Regions from separate parts of the Homo sapiens genome. Here region 2 is linked to region 1. Evidence: promoter capture Hi-C in human tissues and cell types (Jung and others, 2019). All regions are on one chromosome and are shown on one strand. The core of a region is centred on a gene start or on the middle of the fragment in contact, and the rest is flanking DNA. Distances in the headings are between cores, read along the strand shown. Region 1 holds the start of CTNND2 (catenin delta 2). Region 2 overlaps CTNND2 (catenin delta 2).

What was found. The method cuts DNA at HindIII sites, captures the fragments that hold promoters and counts their contacts. A contact is called where the count stands out against the background at its distance.
Region 2: a fragment that was not itself captured here is called in contact with the fragment with the promoter of CTNND2 in region 1 in 1 of the 25 tissues and cell types used here (pancreas).

Annotation. Positions count from the first base shown.
Region 1 is chr5:11,902,245-11,906,633 of GRCh38, forward strand. It overlaps CTNND2 (catenin delta 2), which reads right to left and starts at 2,202. Exons shown (of 22, transcript NM_001332.4): 1 at 1,573-2,202. The coding sequence starts at 1,609. The HindIII fragment of the contact is 17,473 bases long and covers 1-4,389 here.
Region 2 is chr5:11,865,871-11,870,259 of GRCh38, forward strand. The region is part of intron 1 of CTNND2 (catenin delta 2); the gene reads right to left. Among named protein-coding and RNA genes, the nearest start is that of CTNND2, 36 kb to the right of the region's middle. The HindIII fragment of the contact is 6,917 bases long and covers 1-4,389 here.

The DNA of each region.
Region 1 (4,389 bases), core at 952-3,451:
CGTATGGCAACCATATGCTAATAAAAGACATTTGAGGGCAGTTTAAAGCATCTAGTTCGTATTTGAGGATACTCGCCCCTATATATCACACGTCTCGTAGCAGAAATCCCCAAAATAATGACAGGTTCACCGCCATAACTTGATATGAGTCACAGCAAACACTTCTCCATGGGATTTTAGAAGTGGTGCAGCCCCGAAGCCTTGTCATTATGTAGGTGAATGACCAGCAGCAGAGACCAGCTGGACTGCCCTCGGTAGCTTCAGCCCCTGATGAAGTATGCACAATGAGATAACTCCTAGGGAGTTTCAGCACCTCCTTGTTTTCATGGAAGTCACTGCAGAAAATCCCAAGACTCTTAAATATTGGTCACATAGTTCTTAAAAGTGAAAATTTACACCTGTCAGGCCTAATACTATGCTGACAACATTCTCTGTTTTCTAAATCAACATATTTGCTTGAGCACAGTAAAAATACATCTTAATAACACCTGCCAGAGCTAAGGCGAATCAGATCAGCTCAAATGAGGCACACAAGAAAAGAAAAGAAAAAAAAACACCTTGGAAACACAACCTGCCCCTCTATCTCTCATCTCCCACACCCTTCATACCCCCACGGTTACAGCAAAATACAACTTTGGGCATTTTGGAAGTAACTGTTATTTGTGACACACACACACACACCCCAAAAATTCCCAAGTCTGTTTTCCTACCACAAACACCAGGGAGGCTGCATCACCTTTCTAGTGACTTAATTCTGAAAGCAGAGGCTCAACCTGCCGAGTGGCAATCGAAGAAAACACACTACACACCAGAATAAGATGAGGGTCGGGAAAAAAAGAAAAAAGCAGCTTCGCTTTCAGCCATTAATTACGGATCACCCCAATTTTGCATCGCTCATCTCCCATACACACGCACAGCCTTCCAAACCTGGCTTTCAGGCGGCGCTTTCTGGAGCCTGGCTGTCTATTGTCAGCACGCAGAAGCCCCCGAAACCTGTGAAGCCGGCTGCAAAGGCTTGCTGGGAAGCCGCTAAATATAGACCAAGGGGGCTCAGGGTCTGGCAAGCCGCGGGAGCCTGAAGACACGGCCATGGACGCATATGACTAAGTCTTTCCATTTTGTTCTAGCCAAACATCGTAATGACATTGAACATAAGGGCAAAAGACTGGAGGGAAGTCCTCCCCACCCCCACCCCGTCTCCTCCCGTATATTAGGGACGTCATGAATGCACCGAGTATGTTCTCAGGGTGGCGGGGAGCAGCATTGTCGGTGTTGCCCTAAATACGCTTCCTCCCGGGGAGATGGGTGGCAGGGAGGGGGAGCACGCAGGGCAGCCACTTGGTAACCGCTCCAAGAAAGGCACTAACCCCGGACCCCCTTCCAGGCACAGCGGCTTCCGAGGGGGACCTGGCGCGATCGCGGTCCTCCCCGAGGCAGGCAGAAACCCCGCAGCAGCCGCCGCCGCCGCCTGCCGGCCGGGAGCCCAGGACCACCCCCACCAGCGGCAAGAGGAGGAGGACGGCGCCGGGAGGAGGCTGCGCCCGGCCCCGGCCGCCCAGCCCCGCAACTCACCCAAAGGCGCGGCGCCCGGCGGCTTCCTCGCAAACATGCACCCTCCGCCGGCGACAGCTCCTCAGTCCGGGAAGAGGCGTGCGCGGCGCCGCCCGGCTTCAGGGCAAGGTCCTGACCTTGCCCAACTGCAGCATCTTCCGCTTTTGTTGTCTGAGCGCGGCCGCGGGACAAGGGATGCTGGCGGGCGGCAGGGGCGAGCGCCGCGGGCGAGAGGCGGCTCCCGACGCGAGTGCGCAGCGCCCGGCCCGGCGGCCCCTCCGAGCTCGGCGAGCGCAGCGCCCCCTGCCCGGCTCCGCGGGCTCCACGGGCTCCTGCGGGCTCCTCGGGGCTCCGGGCGCCGCCGCCAGCCGGCCGGGCTGAGAGAGCAGCCGCCGCGCCCGCAGCTCCGCTCAGCCGGCTGTCGCCGCGGGCGCGAGCCTGGGGCCGCCGCGGCGCCCGGCGCCGAGCGCTCCCGAGCTGCGCCCCGCGCGCGGCCCGCGCCACCTGTGCCGCCGCCGCCTCAGCCGCCGAGGGCGAGGCTCCTCCCGCGGCGCGCGGCAGCCTCAGCCTCCACCTAAACCTCGGCGGCCGGCCCGGGCGCCCGGCTAGTGAGGGAGCGTCCGCCCCGCCGCCGAAACCGGCCCCGGGTGCGGAGCATGCCCAGTGCCGCCGCGAGAGCGGCGCTTCGCCGCGCGCGTTCCACTTCTCCTGGTTTTCGCGGCAGCAGCGGCAGCCGCGGGAGAGAGGGGAGGAGGCCGCGGGTTGGGAGAGGGCCGAGCATCCTTGGGAACGCACGCCCTGGACCTGAGATGGGTGGATGCTCCGGAGCTAGGCGAAAGCTGGAAGGGACCCGGGAAGGGATGGAACCCCAGGTTACTCCGCTTCCCTAATTCACGTGCAAGGCGCTGACAGTTGACTCTGGTGGGGCAGATGTCAGCCTGCAACAAAGGACCAGGGTGCGAGGGGTCCTAGAGTGGCCAGGTGGGTTGGGGGAGGGAGGCTGGCGGAACGTGCTGGTGAGCGCAGGTAGATGCTCTTGCAGATCCTGTGATTCCAGAGCTAAGGAGGCACGAAGTCCAGCAGAGGTCTTCTCCACAGCACCTGCCCAATCTTGCCATCACCTTCCCTGTTCAGATGGCATGTTTTTGGCGGGTAGTGAGGGTTTCTCCTTAGGCAAAATCACTTCAGATTTGAAACTGGAATGTCTGTAAACTTCCTGCAAGAAAGACCCTTGCCCAGTCTGGAACTTGAGCAGATTAAGTTCTCTCTCCTCCCCTTCTTGTGCCACCTTGTCCTCCTCTCTTGGTATCTTCTGCTGCATCTCTGCCACCTTCTCTTCCTCCTTTTCTTCCTTATTTCAAAGTGAACCACTCCCCTGATCCTTCCCCACAGTCTTCCAGTGCATCTCGCATTGCCTTCTTCACGTTCAAATCAGTTTTCCATATCACCTCCTGGCTTGACTGCTCCTTGACCCCATCGGGACTTCCCCATGCGTAGCCTGCTGTGAAATACAGCAAGTGGAATCACCGTATTCAAAGTCTTGTTGAAAAACGAAACCCAAAACATGTGCCAAGGAAGGCCTCTGGGCCTTCGCCCCTGTCCCTCTGATTCAGCAGCAGTCAGGACGGGGCTCACGTCTGCTGCATTCACAAGCCAAGCCAAGCAGGGCACAGCCTGCCCAGGGGCCAGGTCGAATGTTCCTCCTAATTATGCCACGGGCATGACCCTGAACACCGCAGACTGTCTGAGGTTGTGATCTCCTCCACCCCCCCCACCCCCCCCACCCCCGCAGAGCTTGTTTCTGAAACACAAATAAGCATGACAGAATGCAGGAAATTGTAATAAAAGGGATTTGGTGCTTACGATTCTCAGTAACATTGTGCTTCTATTTTGTGTTGAAAGAGATTATCCAACAAACTTAAATGATTTGAATATTCAAGTCTATTCTTTATTATACTTGGGAGTAAGTTGAAATATAAATGGAAGTAAGAGTGAAGGAGAAAAGCGGTACAGAGGTTAAATAGGTAACAAATAATTGCTAGGAGGAGCAGATTAAGCAGACTATTGACAACAGTACAAATGTTCGCTTTTATTCCTCCTACCCCAGGTGTGGACATGCACACACAGGCTTTGTCTCACCTGCAAAAAACAGTTCTCCAAGCTAACTCCAAGTGTCTTAAAGCCAGTTTGATATTAAAATATCCTGAGTCCTGTGAGGGAAGACATGCAAGACCATTTTTTTCATCACACGTTTAATTGTAATTTTTATCTTAGTTCTCAGAAAGGCAGTTCAATTACACTGAGTACGTGGTACAAGACAAATTAGCAGCACCATATCCATTAGGCCACATTATATTTCAAGAGATGTTCTTAGTTCCCACCTGAGCTTCTGTCAGTCTGCTATCGTTTGGTTTTCTCTTTGCATCTTCTAACTCAAGAAGTCAGTGGGGAGGTGGAAAGGGAGATGAGGGGACATCAGTTACTCTTTAGATTAAAATGGAGGTAGATGTGTAGATGCTATCCACAGGTAATATATGTGTCTTTTATGCCTGATATAGATCTAAGTAAAGAAAATAATTTTCTAACGTTTTTTAGTTACTATCGAGATGAGCAATGACAAATTCTATCAACTAATTGTGTGTCTGGGAAATGAGCTGGAGGCAGTCCCTACAGATACTGTTGGGGCTGGGGCTGGTGTGATATGGTTATTTAGGAAGCAGAGTGGTAAAGTCCAATGTCCTGGACTGCTTTGATTTCATTTGCTCAGTGCCCCATTTCATTGAAACATTTATGACTTTTATTATTCTAGAATAATTTGTAACTTAAGATATTATTCAA
Region 2 (4,389 bases), core at 1,259-3,758, 36 kb before region 1:
TGTGGGGGCAACCTTTAGAAGCTGGAAGAGACAAAAAAAAAAAAACGAGTTCTCCTCTAGAGCCTCCAGAAAGGAACACAGCCCTAGTGACACCTTGATTTTAGCCAACTGACACCCACATAGAGCTTCAAACATAAAGAACTTCAAGAGGAACAGGTGTAGTGGCTCACACCTGTAATCCCAACACTATGGGAGGCCAAAGTGGGAGGATCTCTTGAAGCCATTAGTTTGAGACCAGCCTGGGCAACATAGAAAGACCTCGTCTCTACAAAAAATTTAAAAGTTAGCCAGGTGCAGTGGCATATGCCTATAAACCTAGCTACTCGGGAGGCTGAGGTGGGAGGATTGCTTGAGCCCAGGAGTTTAAAGCTGTAGTGAGCTATGATTTTGCCACTGCACTCCAGCCAGGATGATAACGCCAGACGTTGTCTCTAAAAAAACCTTTAAGAAAATGCATTTGTGATGTTTTAGGCCATGAAATTTATGGTGATTTGTTATAGCAGCATCAGAAAATGAATGCAGTCAGGTATAACCAATGCATCATGTGAGGACACAGGACTTGGTTAAGAGGAAGCCTGAGCAGGATGTTCAAATCTCAGTTGCCCTATAAATGGAAGTATGGGCCAAGGTTAACCATCTACAAAAATTAGGAGGTCCCCACTGACAGCTCTGACACAGGAAATTTAAAAACAAATACATTTCAGAGACTGGGAGAACTGAAGGAGATTTTGTACCTAAAGTGTGCAGCACAGTGCCTGGCACATCCTACGTGCTAAATGTTTTTCGTGGATCTCCTACTGCATTTTTCCTACAAACAGAAAAGCTTTTGCCACAATGTAATCACCTTTCCCATGTTGTCCTAATAACAAACTACACTACTGCTCATGCAAAATAACGCACAGGGAGAAAGAGAAATCACATGCCATTAGGCTTCTCTTGGAATTCTTCGCGTGATCAATAATGGCATTCTCTTCTGTGTGGTCCCAATCAATACATGATTCTAGTTATCATGAACTCACTCCAAGACACTGCCTCCCTGACACCTTATCACGAGCAGTAGATAAGCTGTAACAATTTTTCTAGATATCTGCAAGCACATCTATCACTGTGACAAATGCATGATGTGGCATTATATCTTCTCTTCTTAGCCTTGTTTTAATATCACAAGTCTGTATTTAATACCACAAGGTTCTGATCCAAGCTCACATTTTAACGCTTTCTGGACTGCCAATGCATAATGACCTTTCTTGACTATCCAGCTGGTTGGCTGGTACAAAATACTGTGAAGCCAGGGACAGTTTCAACAAGCCGAGTTATTCCAGAGAAGGATGAACTTGCTAGAGGCTGTGGTACTAATTTTATTGCATGTTAATTCTAGCCAGGAAAATTGCCCTTTGCTCAGACTTTGCACTGATTTCAGAGAAAAGTCCAATAATTATTTGAGGCAAGAAATAATGGCTGTTTTTGTTTTTACTTGGGGGAAGAAAATACAAAATCACAGAAAACATTACAGGCAAGGAATAACATCTCAGATTATTATAATCAGCCAATCAGAACTTTAACGAGCTGTTTAAGATTTTCTCTCTCTTCCACATGGAGATGTCAGTTCTGTTTCATTAACAGGATACTCAGTCACATTGGCAGAAAATCCTGTGGCTACTGTTTGAGAATGAGTGATCATTATTTTTAGAATTATTGTGTATTAGACCAGAAAGTAACTCAAAAGACCCACCAGTTTTGCCATTAGTTATAGATACTGAGACCATTCATTCATTCATTCATTCATTCAATAATATCTATGCTCTATAAAGCCTGTGCTGGTCTCAACTAGTCAAAGACACTGACCCTAAATCACCCAGCAAATCAGTGATAAAGCTGTGATTCCAAGCCAAGAACTTTGGCAGATCACTGTAATCAATACACCTAGTAAAACACCAACTTACACTGTGACTTCATTAAAATAATGTACTATTTATAAATTGTAAGAATTTATGAAAAACAGAAACAGTGTAAGCAGCGCTGGACATCTAGAATGCCTCACTGTTTTATGATCTAAGGCACATCAGATTGTTTTTCCCAATTATCATGGAGCTAGTTCCCTACACTTCACCTCAGTGCTCTTTTGTCAACCAAGATAAACCCCTGATGGCGAAGCAGGGGCAGGATAGACAGAGTCCCCAGGTGGAGTACTAGAACTAACACTTACCATTATGTGTGACCTCTGACAGGTCACTTCACCTGCAGGCACAGCTAGAGCAAGCAGTGACGCATGCGCAGGGGTGTCCCTTGCCTCCAATGCAGCCACCATCCCAGCTGTGGTGCTGAGGATCACACTAGCCCCAACTAAGACCTGCGGCTGGACTCCTGCCTCTGCTCTGTCAGGACAGTCTTTGGGTGCTCCAGGGTGGTGATTGGGGTGTGAATTCCACCATAGGGCAGTCTGATGTGGGAAACACTAATGACAGACCCAAGCTACCAGTTTGAACATCATCTTACCTTCAAAAGAGGTATGAAACCCACTGAAAGTAAATTAATCAAACTAATGATCTTTGGTGTTAAATGACTGAATATTCAGAATCAAGGGGATCATGGAGTTTGCCTGCTCTTTAAAAGTATCCAACTCAACAAGAAGAAGAAAATGCAAAAGGAGCAAATGACTTGAATAGACATTACTCCTAAGAAGATTGCTATCGTTTCAATATTTGTCCCCTCCAAAATGCACGTTGAAACTTAATCCTCAATGTGGCAGTACTGAGAGATAGGGCCTTTAAGAGGTAATTGGATCATGAGGGATCTAAGTTCATGAATAAATTTATTCATTAATAGATTAATGAGTTACCATGGGAGTGGGACTGATGGCTTTGTAAGAAGAGGAAAAAAGACCTGAGCTAGCGTGCTCAGCCCTCTTGCCATGTGAGGCCCTCCACAGCCTTGGGACCATGCAGAGTCTCCAGCAGCAAGAAGGTATTCACAAGATACGGCCCCTGGACCTTAGACTTCTCAGCCTCAATAAATGTAAGAAATACATTCCCTTTATTTATAAATTAGCCAGTTTTACATTTTTGGTTATAAGCAACCGAACACAGACAAGACAAAGACACCCAAATGGCCAATATGCACAAGAAAAAACACCCAACATCAACAGTCATTAGGGAAGCACAAATCAAAATTAGAGTATACCACTTCATATCCATTAGAATGGCCATACTTTAAAACATGGAAAATACGTGTTGGTGAAAATGTGGACAAACTGGAACCCTCATGCATTGCTAACAGGCATGTGAAATGGTACAGTCTATTCACTCAAAACAGGTAAACACAGAATTGCCATATGATGCACCAACCCCACTCTTAGGTATATACCCAAAAGAACTGAAAACAAAGACTCAGATACTTGCACACCAATGTTCACAGCAGCATTATTCACAATTGCCAAAAGGTGAAAGCAACTCGAATGTCAATTGATGGATGAATGGGCAAACAACATGTGGTTTATTCATACAATGGAATATTATTCTGACATAAGAAGGTGCCAACTTCTGACACATGCCACAACATGGATTAACCTTGAAAGTATCATGCTGAGTGAAATAAGCCTGATACAAAAGGTCAAATAATATGTGATTCCACCTATATGAAGTACCAAGAATAGCCAAATTCATAAAGACAGGAAGTAGACTGATGTTGGCTATGGGCTGCAAGAATGGAAAGATGGAGAATTACTGTTTAATTGGTACAGAGCTGCTATTCGAAATAATGCAAAAGTTCTGGAAATGATAATGACGGTTGCACAGCATCATCAGTGTATATAATGCCACTTACTTCTATACTTAAAAACGGCTAAGGTGGTAAATTTTATGTATGCTTTAATGCAATAAAAACAGATCTATTTTTCAAAAGTATTTTGTCCAAGAGGTACACTAGAAGGTGAGGAGACAAGTCAATTTAGTCCAAATATGTGTATTTCCTTTTCCTGTGCCAGAAGGGGGTCACTAAGGTGTTAGGAACAAAATGCAAAAAAATAAGGAAGCAAGAAATATTCTAATTCCCCTGACACAACCGTAATTGGTAGCAGGATGAAAATCTCAAAATGTCTGCACCTTGAGAATATTAGAGAGGCCTTGAAGAAGCATGAAACCACCCGGCAAATACTTACACATAGACTGATTTAGAGTGGAAAAATGGTCATATTGCATCCACTACCACAATGCCTAGCAAAAGAGCCCAATGGAGAAAATCAAAAGGGAGAATATAGCACTGCGATAGGGGTTGGGTCCACGGAAAGCCTCTGCAAATCTACATCAGTGGTTCTCATTCATAGGCAATTCTGTCCCCTAGGAGGCATTTGGCAATCCCTAGAGACATTATTGGTTGTTACAGCTGGGTGGT